Regions from separate parts of the Homo sapiens genome. Here region 1 is linked to region 2. The links are contacts of gene promoters, found by promoter capture Hi-C in human tissues and cell types (Jung and others, 2019). All regions are on one chromosome and are shown on one strand. Each heading gives the region's core, a stretch centred on a gene start or on the middle of the fragment in contact. The rest is flanking DNA. Distances are from core to core; before and after follow the strand shown.

The links. The method cuts DNA at HindIII sites, captures the fragments that hold promoters and counts their contacts. A contact is called where the count stands out against the background at its distance.
Region 1: a contact is called between a fragment that was not itself captured here and the fragment with the promoter of KIF21B in region 2, in 2 of the 25 tissues and cell types used here (IMR-90 fibroblasts and lymphoblastoid cells).

The regions. Positions count from the first base shown.
Region 1 is chr1:200,548,901-200,556,340 of GRCh38, reverse strand. KIF14 (kinesin family member 14) reads left to right here. Exons shown (of 30, transcript NM_014875.3): 28 at 887-961; 29 at 1,735-1,873; 30 at 2,574-4,841. The coding sequence ends at 2,953. Among named protein-coding and RNA genes, the nearest start is that of KIF14, 68 kb to the left of the region's middle. The HindIII fragment of the contact is 5,068 bases long and covers 3,350-7,440 here.
Region 2 is chr1:201,018,789-201,026,027 of GRCh38, reverse strand. It overlaps KIF21B (kinesin family member 21B), which reads left to right and starts at 2,314. Exons shown (of 35, transcript NM_001252102.2): 1 at 2,314-2,685. The coding sequence starts at 2,645. It overlaps LOC101929305 (a long non-coding RNA gene), which reads right to left and starts at 2,079. Exons shown (of 4, transcript NR_188464.1): 1 at 1,943-2,079; 2 at 409-524. RefSeq lists silencers at 1,589-1,746, 2,098-2,457, 2,858-2,907, 4,788-4,937 and enhancers at 3,512-4,119, 4,428-4,557, 6,088-6,187, 6,293-6,587. The HindIII fragment of the contact is 6,719 bases long and covers 1-4,146 here.

The sequences.
Region 1 (7,440 bases), core at 4,634-7,133, 470 kb after region 2:
TTTGGATATTCTTTTGGAATTTTGTTTTTTTTTAAACCACATAGAGCAAATCTGAATTAGGGCTAGGGAAGCTCTCTGTGAGTAAAGCCAATTAAACACTGAAAAAGAATCCCCTGGCAGAAATTGAGCAGGAAAGCACCTTAGGGGGCAGCATTGGATAGAATAAAAGCAAAGGCTTAGAATTTAGATGTGGGCTCCCACTCTAGTTCTCAGTCTTAGGAGTTAGGAACCAAGGTCTGTTTCCTTACCTATAAAATGAGGTATACAATGGGCAGCATAGGACTATAATGGAGAATCAAATAACAAAACATTTGTAAAGTTTTTAGAGTATAGTATTTGCTTGATATGTTACTTACCCCCTTCCAAGGGAAATTTAGAAATTTTGTATCTATAAATATTTAAGTATAACACAAAATTTGTTATAACAAATATTAGAGGGTGTCCATATTTAATATAGAAATCAATGTGCAATTTATTTTGAAAGAAATTATTAATGAATACAGGTGAATTAGACTGATTATTTTCCCATGTCACAGGTAAATAGAAAATACAGACTAAGTATATGATCAATGTGTTTAAAAGGAGAGTAATTGCTATAGCTTGAAATTTTTTATGTAAATAAAATAAATGAGAGAGATTATAAAGTTGAACTCTTAAAAGTGAAATAAACTTATTTGGAAAGAAGTCAATGTGCAATTTATTTTTGAAGAAATTTCACATGTATGATTTAAGTACTCTCAAGCTATTTAATTGCAATCCCAGAAATAGAGCTCCAATCTTTGGGCTTCTAGACTAGAATTTTTTAAAAGTCTGGTCCCATGCAATTCTATGATTTTTGTACTTCTGAATAATAAAGTATAATAAAATATTTTAACATTCTCTATAGGTTACCAAAGAAATGAAAACTAATGCCATGGGATTGATTAGATCTCTTGAAAACATCTTTGCTGAATCGAAAATTGTAAGAGAAGCTTTAAATTGATTTTAATTTTGCTTATTTTTTATCATTTCACTTGGTTCAAATGTAGATATTTTTATTTCAGTGTTTATCCTTAGCCAGAGACAACTCTTTTGTATATGTCTAATTGTAGCATGTAAGATAGCTCTTTGTCTTTTTTATGTGTGTCATAACTTACTAGTTCTAGTAGTGGATAAAGGATTGTATAGAAATTTATTAATATGTCTGTTTCTTATTGCTACTGGTTTAATAACTGTCAGCTTTTGCTTGGATGGGTCATTATAGGCTAAAAAATTGTGTTTAATAATCATTGTGCTCAAAGATTTTAAAATACAGTTGAATTAGATAGATTATTCCCATGTCACAGGTAAAGAGAAAAATTAAGTATATGATCAATGTGTTAAAAAGGAGAGTAATTGCTATGGCTTGAAAATTTTTATTTAAATAAATGAGAACTATTATAAAGTTGAGCTCTTAAAAATGAAATAAATGTATCTTTTAAAGTATTGAATAATAAATGGCACTGTTACTTTATTCCATTCTCATGTAATAGGATGACAGACTTTGAAAATTAATTGAAAATTCTGATTTCTTTTGAAAACAGTAATTACTATTGTATTTTGGTCTTGCTTATAGAAATAGAGTTAAGCACTGGTGAGGAAATTAAACTCTCTTTCTTAAAGAGAAGATTCTGGCAATTAAAATCATATTGACTGAGCCTTACTGCCATTGAGCCTGTTAATGTATTATTTTAAATATTAACTTTATTTATACAGAAAAGTTTCAGAAGGCAAGTACAAGAAGAAAACTTTGAATACCAAGATTTCAAGAGGATGGTTAATCGTGCTCCAGAATTCTTAAAGTTAAAACATTGCTTAGAGAAAGCTATTGAAATTATTATTTCTGCACTGAAAGGTATGATTCTCCAAATGGAGTTTATAATCAGAATTTTATATTTTAAGGAACCTTAGACATCTTTCCTTTTTTTTTTTGAGATGGAGTCTCGCTCTGTCACTCAGGCTGGAGTGCAGTGGCTCGATTTCAGCTCACTGCAACCTCCGACTCCTGGGTTCAAGCGATTCTCCTGCCTCAGCCTCCCAAGTAGCTGGGATTACAGGCATATGCCACCATGCCTGGATAATTTTTGTATTTTTAGTAGAGATGGGGTTTCACCATGTTGGCCAGGCTGGTCTCGAACTCCTGACCTCAAACAATTCACCCACCTTGGCCTCCCAAAGTGCTGGGATTACAGGCATGAGCCACAGTCCCCGGCTGACATCTTTCCTTTTTATTTCTAACCTTTTCATTATTTTAGTCATTAACTGAAGCCTACCCAATGCTACTTCACTGATATTAGTTACCCATATAGGAACTTGTATTTATAATTAAATTCCCACTTAATGTATGTATCAGTACTTCTACCTAAATAATTAGATCCTGAAAAACCAAGTGCTCATCTAGCAAATAAACACTTTAGTTGACTAATCTTAAGTAGTTTGGAATTGTTTTGATAGGGTCACTTTGACTTAAAAGATATCTAGAGTCTATAAAAGTCATAAATACCTGATGAAAACTGAAAAGGCTAATTAACTTTTCCCTCCTCTCTTGCATATAGGATGCCATAGTGATATAAATCTTCTCCAGACTTGTGTTGAAAGTATTCGCAACTTGGCCAGTGATTTTTACAGTGACTTCAGTGTGCCTTCTACTTCTGTTGGCAGCTATGAGAGTAGAGTAACTCACATTGTCCACCAGGAACTAGAATCTCTAGCTAAGTCTCTCCTCTTTTGTTTTGAATCTGAAGAAAGCCCTGATTTGTTGAAACCCTGGGAAACTTATAATCAAAATACCAAAGAAGAACACCAACAATCTAAATCAAGCGGGATTGACGGCAGTAAGAATAAAGGTGTACCAAAGCGTGTCTATGAGCTCCATGGCTCATCCCCAGCAGTGAGCTCAGAGGAATGCACACCCAGTAGGATTCAGTGGGTGTGAATACTGATGTGTAGGCACTTTTATGACCACCCATGAAAGAAAAAGAACACTTGCTCGGTAATTTTCTTTATGCAGGAGAGTTTAAGAGAAATCAGCACAGATATTTCAAAAAAGTCCATGTCTTTTTATCTTTAAAATATCTATTTATCAAAGGCCAGACACAGTGGCTCACGCCTGTAATCCCAGCACTTTGGGAGGCGGGCAGATCACAAGGTCAGGAGTTTGAGACCGGCCTGGCCAACATGGCGAAACCCCGTCTCTACTAAAAATACAAAAATTTGCTGGGCATGGTGGCGCGTGCCTGTAATCCCAGCTACTAGGGGGGCTGAGGCAGGAGGATCGCTTGAACCTGAGAGGCAGAGGTTGCAGTGAGCCAAGATCATGCCACTTTACTCCAGTCTGAGCAACAGAACGAGACTTAGTCAAAATAAATAAATAAATAAATAAATAAATAAATAAATAAATAAATAAAATATATTTTTATCTTTAAAGTGTTTAACATTGGTATACTGTCTGTAGTTGGTTCATTAGTCGTTTATAAAGGGTTATTTTCTCATGAGTGGAAACCTGAACAATCAGTTACCTTTGTGCCTATGCCTTCTCTCTCCTCAGACAGCTGGGATGTTTATGGTGAAATGGCCTGTACAAGTTTAACTAAGACAACTTAACTTGCATTGTTAATCAAAAATTCTTTTCTCAAAGGGTTAACTGGTTGCCATTTTGAATAGTATGTTCAAGGGTGTAGCTTCCTGTTTCTTTCCAAATTATAAGTAGCTACCTAAATATAGTATAATTATATATTAATAATATGGCTTGCTGGCACAGTAGTTTACCCTGTTATCTGTGTTTCATAATGGGGGCTGTATGAATATTATTTAAAACTAATAAAATGTTGCCAGAATTATACTAAACTGTTGGATGAGATTAGGAGATCAGAGGCTGGACCTTCTCTTGATAATGCTTGTTTTGTTAAAGGTATAATGAAATAATTTGTATATGATTTGATGAAGATTAAAGACCCTTATTTTCCACAGCTTTAAAAAAAAACCTTTATTTATGATCAAGTAATAAAGATAATATTCTACTTGTGGGATCTTACATTACGGAAATAGTTTGACGTTTTTGACCTCAAGAGTATGTATAATTTGAAGAGATACTTTGTAACTATGCTTGGGTGATATTGAGCAGTTCCTAAAGAATAATTCATTTAAAAAAAAAGAAGAAAAAAAAAGAAGAATTCATTTAAATAACCTGATCCTTTCATTTGCCCTTTTCGAATTTACAGATACTACTTGTACATTTGGCATAACTAGTTGAAATTGGCCATTCGTACCATGAATAAATCTGATAGTTTCCTTGTTAGGAAGAGATTGTAAGTAAATACAGTCATTGCAGTCAGAACAGTATTAGTGAACCTTGTGTGGTGTTTTCAAGCTCTTTAAAATGGTACAATGTAGCACATTTGCTTTCATTTCTTTTTTTATTTTTGGCATTTGACCTTGTATTCTTTCTGAAGCTCTATATGTGTTTTTATTAGTCAATAATCTGGCAAGTAGCACTTTGCCTGTGCAGTTTGCTGGAGTGTAGATGTACATATGAGGATTTCCCGGGAGGTGCACTTCTTTGAAGAACTTCCTAAAGTACCTGTATAGTAGTTTTCATCTTAATATTCAGTATTTAATCTTCAGTTTGTGCTTTGTAAACTCATGACTTAATTGGTCAGAAACTTTTTAGTGTCTTTATAAAATTTTGTATACATATTTATACTAAACACATTGTGATACTGTATTTGAATGAATGGTGAAAAAATATTTGCTATTGGAATTATGTGCACTGACAAGAAATGTTATAAAGAGAATGCCTTTAATAAATCTTTTCAGCATTAGAATTGCTTCGTGGTCTATGCTTTTTTATTTTACTGATTTTCTTTGTTTATTTTACTCTTCATTCAGAATAGCTCTGCCTTGATAATAGCTAGGCTAGTGTTGCAAATCAAGTTAATAATTAGGAAACACTAAACAAATATTAATATTGCCATAACAACTATTTTTTTTTAACATTGTTCTGCCTCTCTTTAGTTGATTATGCCTGGAATAGATTTATCACCATGTGGTATGTGTAAAGAGCATGAGCTTTGGAGTTTGACATATTTTTCACACGTTTGGAGTGTGAATCCCAGCTGGACTGCTTAGTAACTACATGACCTTAGACATGTTACTGTCTTCACTCCCATTCCTTCATCTGCAGAAAGAAAAGTAATACCCACCTCATGGACTATCTATCTATGAGCACTTAGTGAGAAAAATGTGGGAATAACTGCTGGCAAGTAGTAGACTGTTAGTGAATTTATTTTCTGTCCTTTTCATTACCAGCTACAAAACCCTTGTTATGTATATAAGATCACACTTGGTGCAGGCATATGCCATTTATAACATTCTGCCAATGTGCCAAATTGTATTGCAGTCCTTTATGGCATACCTGAAAATATATCTGCCGTCATTTTGTTCCATGATAATAAATGGACAATAAAGATAACTAAACATTATCTTACTGCTCTTAAGGTATAATGTGCTATGTGTCCTCCATGGAGTCAGTCCATCTGAAAGTTTTAGCAAAAGGCTGTTTTGTCTAGTTAGCTAACTAGCATACTTGAGTTTACAGAGCCTAACTATGTGCCAATAAGCATTTCAAGGTTTTCCCTAAATATGGAAAGTAAGAATTAATCACAGGTGAGGGGAAAAGGTATCAGTAGTTTGGTTCAGTTAAAAAAAAGCTTATGTGCCCAGCTTCCTGTGCATGATTCATCAGGTAAGTTTGTGCTCTGGATTTTGCAAGTTACAGTCATTGCATGATATAATCAAGACTGAGCTTTTCCATCTTTCTTCCTTTAGCCAATATTAGTTTATGGGATTTTTAGATGTGGAGCATGGCCATTTAGTTTGTTTTAGTATCTGATAGCTAGGTTCATTCATTCATTCTAATAATTATTTACTTAATGCTAGGTATGCTGTTGGTGTTAAGCCATAGCAACCTGAAAAAGATTAGATTGCCTCATGGACTTTTGAAAGGCCCAACTTGTTGGATCCCAGTTGTTCATAACATTATATTTTCTCGATGCCAAAGACCTCTAAACACACTAAACTCAAGTCGGGTGCAGTGGCTTATGCCTGTAATCCCAACACTTTGGGAGGCTGAGGAGGGTGAATCACTTGAGGCCAGGAATTTGAGACCAGCCCGGCCAACGTGGTGAAACCCCAACACTATTAAAAACACAAAAGTTAGCCGGCATGGTGGCGCATGGCACGCCTGTAATCCTAGCTACACAGGAGGCTGAGGCAGGAGAATGGCTTGAACCCAGGAGGTAGAGGTTGCAGTGAGCCTAGATCACGCCACTGTACTCCAGCCTGGGTGATAGAGCGAGACTCTGTCTAAAAAAAACAATAATAAACAGGCATGGCAGTGCATGCCTATAATCCCAGCTATTCGGGAGGCTGAGGCATGAGAATTGCTTGAACCTGGGAGGCAGAGGTTGCAGTGAGCCAAGATTGCGCCACTGCACTCCAGCCTGGGAGACCAAGGGAGACTGTCAAACAAACAAAAAACCAAACAAAAAACACACACTACACTCGAACATACAGGAGAACCACCAGAGAATCGCTGACTTATTCAAGACAGAATTCAGGGGTAAACTTTTGATTAAGCAAATGGCAACTGGAAACTGCATATTTCCTGTTGCTGAATGGTCCTAAACTCAGAGAATCATAGGTTTTTTAAAGAATTTAGCCGAGCACGGTGGCTCACGCCTGTAATCCCAGCGCTTTAGGAGGCCGGGGGTGGGTGGATCACCTGAGGTCAGAAATTCGAGACAAGCCTGACCAACAAGGTGAAACCCCGTCTCTACTAAAAATACAAAAATTAACCAAGCGTGGTGGCACGCGCCTGTAATCCCAGCTACTCAGGAGGCGTAGGCAAGAGAATCGCTTGAACCCGGGAGGCGGAGGTTGCAGTGAGCTGAGATGGCCACATTGCACTCCAGCCTGGGCGACAAGAGTGAAACTCCATCTCAAAAAAAAAAAAAAAAAAAGAATTTAAGAGCGATTTTGTGGTAAGTCACAGGCTTTCGTTTCTCTGGCTAATATTCAGTGAAAACCTCTGAATTTGTCTAAAGAGCGAGCATCTGCCCATTAGGGGGCCTCATTTTCACGAAGAGCAGATTGTGCTGTCCACTAAGAAGATGGAGAATCTCTGAAATTTGGAAAATGGATATCGCTTTCTATGGCCCTACATCCCCCTCTTTTTAAAATGGTGGCTCACGTCTATAACCCCAGCACTTTGGGAGGCTGAGATGGATGGATCACGAGGCTAAGAGATCTAGACCATCCTGGCCAACATGGTGAAACCCTGACTCTACCAAAAAACACAAAAATTAGCTTCGCCTGTAGTCACAGCTACTCGGGAGGCTGAGGCAGGAGAATCACTTGAACCCG
Region 2 (7,239 bases), core at 1,065-3,564:
CACGCTGTGGTTTAAGCCTTTTTCCCACCTTGGTTCTCCATCTAGCCTCTGAGCAGCAGAACCCAGGGGGGATGTCTGGATGCTGGCTGCCCTGCTGCTCCCTGGTGGCCCAGGAGGGAGCTACTTCTGAGTAGCCGAAGTCCTGAGGCTCTGACATTTAGGAGACCTGAGTTTCCCGCCCGTGTGTATCCCTGCTTCCCCTGACTCAACACCCAGTGACCTGGAGGGATGCAGAGAGGGTGGGCAGCAGCTCTGGAGGCATTTCCCAGCAGTAGAACTGTGAGTCAGAAGGGTCATCTACTGTCGGAAGTCAGAGGGGACCTCCTGCAGGCAGGAAACCAGAGTTGGGCCCCAGAGAAGTCCAGAGATGAGTTGGCGGGAAAGTAGCTCTTCAGAATGCAACATTACCATCCGGGAAGGCTGAACCTGGAGTCCGCTGTGCCTAGAGGAAAAGCCTGGGCCGGCCTAGCTCCCTTCTGCCTGGACATCATCATCCCTTCCACCTTGGTGGTCATCTGGGAAGCCTGGAATAAGATATACATGTCCAAATCTGGAGTCTGTTGCTTATATGCTGGAATTCATACATGTGAGGCTCAGTTTCCCCATCTGCAAAATTTAAAAAGAATAAAAAAGCCTAGCTTACAAGGTTATAGGGAAAAAATGAGAATATGTGCATAAAATACCTTGTGTAGGTGGTCCATATGTGTTAGTCTCCTCCCCACGAATTATTTTGGTTGGAAGATGGGGAGGAATGTTGCAGGATATGACTGCAACATTCTGCTAACCTCCTGGTCCAGGAGAGGTGATCCCCTGGCCCCAGGGAGAGCTTCCTCTAGATTCAAATGCTAATAAAAGGTCCAGGATACCACCAAGACCTCTTCTCCAGCCCCCATCATGGGGGCACTGCTGGCGGTGCTCCTCCTGTTTGCCATGGGGATGAAAAGGATGTGTTGATTGGCCCTTGAAATTTGCCCTTGAAATTATCTTTGGTTTTGATTTGACCTTAATAGGTCAAGCCAAACAGGGATCTGAGCTACTGCATGAAGCAGTTATTGGCGGGGAGGGGGGTGTGAGTGGAGGAGGGAAGGGGAGGAAGATGGTACCAACAGATGCATCCTCAGACCCCAGTCCACACCCTTGCCAAAATCTCTGACATGGTTTCATCATCTGAGGGTAATGTAAGAGGCCTGGAGTCAGACTCCCCTTCCTCCCCTCCCCCAGAGATCCCCATCCACATCTGGGGCTGCAGCTGGGTCCTCCTCTTGGGCCCTTTCCAGGGGAGGGAGCTGGGTGAAGTGAGGGCAGCTGGTGAGGGGCCCTGTGAATGGCCCCAATGTTGGGAGGCAGGGGGCAGGGAAGAGGCGTCTGGGCTCAGAGGGAGGGAGATGGACTGGGAAGGGAATTGTGACTTTGCAGCACTGGTCTCCTCCTCCATCCAGGCCCAGCGTTAAAGTCTCCATGGTCCTCCTTGTCCTTTATACCCATTCCTGCAGGCAGCTGCCCTCCTTCCCTTCCCCACCCACTTCACCGCCCAGCCTCTCTACCCAGGTGCTCGGAACTGAGGGCCCCCTTTGTTCCCTCCTTTCCCCCAGGGCAGCTCAGGCCTCCCACACTGACCCTCTGGCCCCACAGCCACAACAAGCAGAGTGTGAGCCAGGCCCAGTGGGGTCATCTGTGGGTCATAAAGGTCAATGGGACAGTCGTCTAGCAGTAGGGAGGGGCTAGTCTTGGGCTAGGAGCCTGGCCAGGAATCAACTAAAACATGAGCTTTAAGATGCTGCAGGGTGGAGGTGGGGGAAATTTTAGTTAGGGGCTAGCAAGAACTCCCTTCGAGAAGGGTTGGCGAATTTACTGGAATAAATGCAGAAGGGAAGCTTTCCTGGCTCTTTTGAACTATAAACCGTCAATCGCTGTGGGATCCCCGGGAGACCAGGGTTCTTACCATGCTTACCCACGAACTCGCTCTGTAACCTTCGGTAGTTCCCCTCTTTGAATCTCAGTTTCTTCATTTATGAAATGAGGGTCCCATTGAAGCCGAGGTTCTGCTACTCCAGGAGCCGAGGTTCTAACGTGGTCTGCGTCCAGCGCCCCCACCCCTACTCCCACCCCTACCCCCACCCCCACCCTTCAATCCCGCCCCCTACCCCCAGCCACCCCGTGGCCGCGAGCCAAGAGGTCCCTTTAAAGGCGCGAGTCCCGCCCCCACTGCTCATTAGGGCTTTCGATTGGCGGCTCCTGGGCGGGGCGGGGCCCGGCCTGGGCTCGGGGCTGGCTCGGGGCGGGCTCGGGGCCGGATCGGCCCCCGCCCCCTTTGTTCGCGCTGCGGCGGGAGGTGGCTGCCGGGTGGGAGGTGTGTGCGCGTGTGCCGCGCCGTAGGGAGCGGCGGGTCGCGCCGCCGGCTGTCAGCTAGCTCCGCGCCGCCGCCCGATGGCGCGAGGAGGCGCGCGGGCCCAGCCCCGGGGGGCCGGCCGCGGGTGAGCCCCTCGGCCTGCCGCCCGCGAGCATGTCACCTCCAGCCGCCGCCGCCGCAGCCTCCGCCAGCCGCGCCCGCGCCCCCGCCTCCCGCAGCCGCAGCCGCTGCCTCGGGCATTGGCCCCCAGACCCCCGCCTCTGATCCACGCCCAGACCCTAGCTCCAGAGGGCCATGGCCGGCCAGGGGGACTGCTGCGTCAAGGTGGCCGTCAGGTAGGGACCCGGGGCGGGGAAGGGGGCGCGCGGAGAAGCCTCGGGCTTTGTCTCGCGTGGGCTTTGGGCGGGGGGCGCGAGCACCGCTTGGGCTGGAGCCTGCACTCCCGGAGGAGGGGCCGGCGTGGGACGGGATGGAGGGCGCCGCGCGCTGGCCAGTCTGCCGCAGGGGAGCGGCGACCCCGCCGACTACTGGAAGGTGGCTTTGTTTGGGTGGTAATTTTGGGCCCCTCTTGGGAGCCCTTAATGATCAGAAAATCGAATAAACAAGGAAATCCGGTATTTCACACCCAGCTCTGGCCCAGGCCGGAGCGTCTGTGCGTTTCCTCTTCGCCTCCCCACGAGGCTGCTGTCTCATACGGGGATACCAGAGAGGGAAATTTCCCCTCATCCATGCGAGTCAGCTAGTTATGTGCTCTTGGTCCAGCTAGCAAAGGCAGCACACCCACCCTGGGAGCCAGATCTGCAGACAAAGATCGGGTGCGGGGACCAACGGAAAAGCTGGGATGATGCCTTGGCCTTCTGTGGGAAGTCAATGGCTTTGGGGGAGAATCCTACCAGTCCTGTCCCAAGAGGAGATGGGCCTAGGAAGGGAGGAAGAGGTGTATCTGAGGTGCTTCTCTCTGAGAGGGCAGGAGGGTGTGATGCAGATGCCCCATCCTCAGGCACTCAGATAAAATTGAGCAGGGGAGGGTTGCCTAGACTTATCTGGGGTTCCATTCTCAACAGCTCCGGGACTTGAGCCGGCAGAAATGAGACAGGGAGAGGACATGGCTGGGTGGGTTCTATTGGGAGGGGTACACAAAGGTGCAGGAGCAGGAAATGCTGTGAAATTGAGCCATCTGTGTTCTTTGTGCTGGGTGGAGATGCTTCACACCTCACCACTTCTCCCAGTTTTTGCTTTGGGTTTTTCTCTTTGAGAGGGGTGTCTTGGCGGCAGAGTGCCAATCTGGAGCTGCTCACCAAGGTAGGGATGTGGCAAGAACATCTATCTCTGCCCCAGCCCTGTATGATGGAGGGGGCGGGGGATTGTCCAGGTCTAGGGTAGGTCTCTCAGGTCTCTAGATCCCTTGGGTCATATGTGACCCAGATTCCAGGGGTCCTAGGAGGTTGCTCCTAGACAGAGTCAGAGATGGCAATGAAAAAGCTTTCTTCTTCCTGCCCCAGGGCAGATGCCCCTTGCCACGGCCACCTGGCCAGGCCTCTGCAGCCCAAAGAGGAGCTGACACTGATCAGTGCTTGGGTGAAGGGAAGGAGATTGAGGCACCCCCACCCATGCACCCTAGGCAGCACTCAAGAATCACTTGAGCACAGCTTTCCTGGCCCTGAGCAGCCAGAGACAAAGAGGAGCCCTGCAGGTGCCTGGTGGGCTGACTGGGGCGGGGCCAGGCTGCTGCTGGGGCTGACATTGCAGCAGGATCTTGTGGAGGTCGAGGGAGGGGTGCATGGCTGGGGGGTGGGAGTGAGAAATGTAAATATGGCATCTGCAGCAGATTGGGAGAGTCCGAGAACACCATAAAAGGGAAATGAAGCTCTGGCCCCCACCCATTGTGAATGAGGGCTGGGAAGGAAGGGGCTTGGGGGTGCCCTTTCCACAGGGGGTTTCCTTTAGATTCCATCTTGCTGGAGAGAGCTAAACAAAGGCCCCCTACCTCTGTTCAGGTCTCCAGGCTGGACTGGGGCTGAAAAGATGTGGGACTCCCACCCGGGGAGCCTCATGGGATTGGCACAGTGAGGAGAAGCTGATGTTCTCTTCCCACTGCCACCTCTAGAAGCTTCCCGGGACCCTTTCTGCAGAGAAGGGATCATGCCTGCCCTCTGCACCCAGTTCAGGACCATGTGTGTCATCTCTGGTTCCCAGTCAGATTGCCCTAAGTGGGGTCTGGGTGCCCCCACGCCTTGCCTTTCAGTTGCTGATCTGGATTGGGGGTGGGGCATTTGAGCATCAGAAGTCAGGCTTTCAGGGTCTCCGGGAAGGTAAGGGCCCCGCCCACTCCTCCCCTCCCACCCCAGCATGAGCGCCCAGCCCCGGCACACGCCAGACCTCAATGGGCAGCCGGCCGTGTACAGCAGACAATGCCTGGACAGAACCCAGTTTCTAATCAGAGAGCTTAGGACTGAGCTGGGGCTGGGCTGGGCTGGGAAGGAGAGCAGATGGTACCAGTGATGGGCTGTAGGGGGAGTTTTCCTTGTTTTTAGATCCTCTTCTACCCATCCTCCCCCGCAGCACCCCCAGAAATCACTTCTCTCACCTGAAAGACTGGGTGGTGGGCTGCACTACAGTAGACCATTTATGGGAAGGGCAAGGCTTGTCCAGGGCCTAGTCCAGCCCCAGGGCTCACTACCTCCTGCCAGGTTCAGCTGTCTTTCTGACTTTCTGGAAGTCCTTTCTTGAATCCAACTGAAGTGCCTTCTGAATTTCCATGAGAATAACATAGCGAGCCTGGAGTCCAGCTCTTCAGACAGGGAAGGCCAGGAATGAGACAGGTGTGGTCTGATTGTGTGTGTGTGTGTGTGTGTGTGTGTGTGTGTGTAGAGGAGAGAGGTCCCAGGGCTATTAGACTAGGTGAGAAGTGCCAGGCCTAAGGCTCTTGGCCCTGCAATCTGTTTGGGATGAAGAGATCGAAGCTGGCTGGCTGTGAAACGCTTCAGTGAAGGCCTGGGCTCCTGGAGAGCCGGAGGAGGAAACTTTCAGGACCTGGGGCTCAGGGTAAGGGAAGAAAGTTCAGGGGTGAGCAGACCCCAAAAGCCCCACCTTGTGGCCTCCCCAGCTAGATGGAATCTGGCCCATCTGTCCCTGAACCCAGGCTAGTCGGCTTTGCACCAAGGGATTCCCAGGCTGGCCTCTCCAGCCTGCCCTGTGATCCCTTTATCCATTAATCCCCTTGTACTGTAAAGATTCTCAGCTTCCTGGGCTGGACTAGAACTGGCAGTCACCTGGGGGAGGAGGTGTGTAGCAAGGCTAGAGAGAGGTGGGGCGGAGCTGTGACCTGCCCCAGGCTGCAGAGATATAGGCCTGACAAATGGGGCGAGAAAGGGGTAGCTGTTAAGAAATGCAAGTTGGCAAAGTTGAAATTGGGGAAGGAAGCTAAGTCACATGGCAAATTTGTTTAAGACCCTTTCAAGTCCCCAGCTCTGAGCCCCCACCATGAGGGGAGACCTCAGTGTTGCCTAGCCCCCTCCCCTCTTATCTCTGCCTGGCTTCCCTAAGCTTCCTTCCTTTAGTCTGCTTGGCGGTGCTTGGCCAGCCCAGCATCCATCTGTTGATACTACAGGGTTAAGTAGGGGATAGGTAGGGGTTTGGGGGGGATCCAAGGGACCCAAGGGACAATGTTAGATTGCACCCCAGCCCTCTCCCATTTGGGTTCTCTAGCTGCAGTTATTTCCCTAGTTCTAGGCTACTCTGAAATCTTGGTCAATGACTGTCTGAATTTTGAACCAAGAGCAGTGGTGGCTTGGGAGAGAAAGACTGAAGAAGACAGAAGAAACTGTGGGGGAATGGGTATTTGGGGTGCCTTCCGAGTCCCAAAGCCAGTCAATGCCAATCAATGCCACCTGTGTCCAGTTTACAGATCTCAGAAACTGAGGCCCATACAGGGCCTCATGTGGGCTGTGTGGAGACCTGAGAATCTTGGTGGTGGCCTCCTGCTGCAGAAATAGGGTTTATGTCATCATAAGGAAGTGGAGTGTAGTAACCACAGGCCCCGGAAACCTCCCCCTCCACCACCCAGCCTGCCTGCCTGATTGGATCTCAGCTTTTGAAAACCTCCAAGTGGAGGTGAGGCGGGGCCCAGGCCTGGGCCAGGGAGGTGGCAGAGGTGATATGTGCCTGGCATGCTTATTTTTGCAACCCTGGGGGCAAAGGGCAGGGCAGGAACTGATGCAATTCATCCACTGGCTTCGTCATGGGGCACCTTCCCTGTTTGTCTTTTGTGGGCCTCAGTTTTACCCACTGGAAAATGGGAACTGCTGTGTTCTGGTTTGTTCATTTGTGAAGAGCAGTGGCTTGGAGGAAGACGGACATAAAATCTTTGGAGGGAACAAAATGCAGAGTAGATTCCTGAGGAATTGAATATAAATAAAATGTTTTTTTAAAAAAAATGGGTCCTAGGCCAGGCGCAGTGGCTCATGACTGTGATCCCAGCACTTTGGGAGGCTGAGGCAGGTGGATCACAAGGTCAGGAGTTCAAGACCAGCCTGACCAATATGGTGAAGCTCCATCTCTACTAAAAATACAAAAATTAGACGGACATGGTGGCGCATGCCTGTAGTCCCAGCTACTCAGGAGGCTGAGACAGGAGAATCACTTGAACCTGGGAGGCGGAGGTTGCAGTGAGCTGAGATCGCACCACTGCACTCCAGCCTGGGTGACTAAGCAAGAATCTTTCTCAAAAATAAAATAAAATAAAATGGGCCCTAATGTAAGTGTACCTAAGAGATGTCTCTGTAGTTTAAGCTTTAGTGAACTATTTAGTAAATTGAATTCACCTCCAGTCCTTTGATTAATATATTAATTTAGAGCAGAATGCATGGTGTGGTGGAGAGGAGTATGAA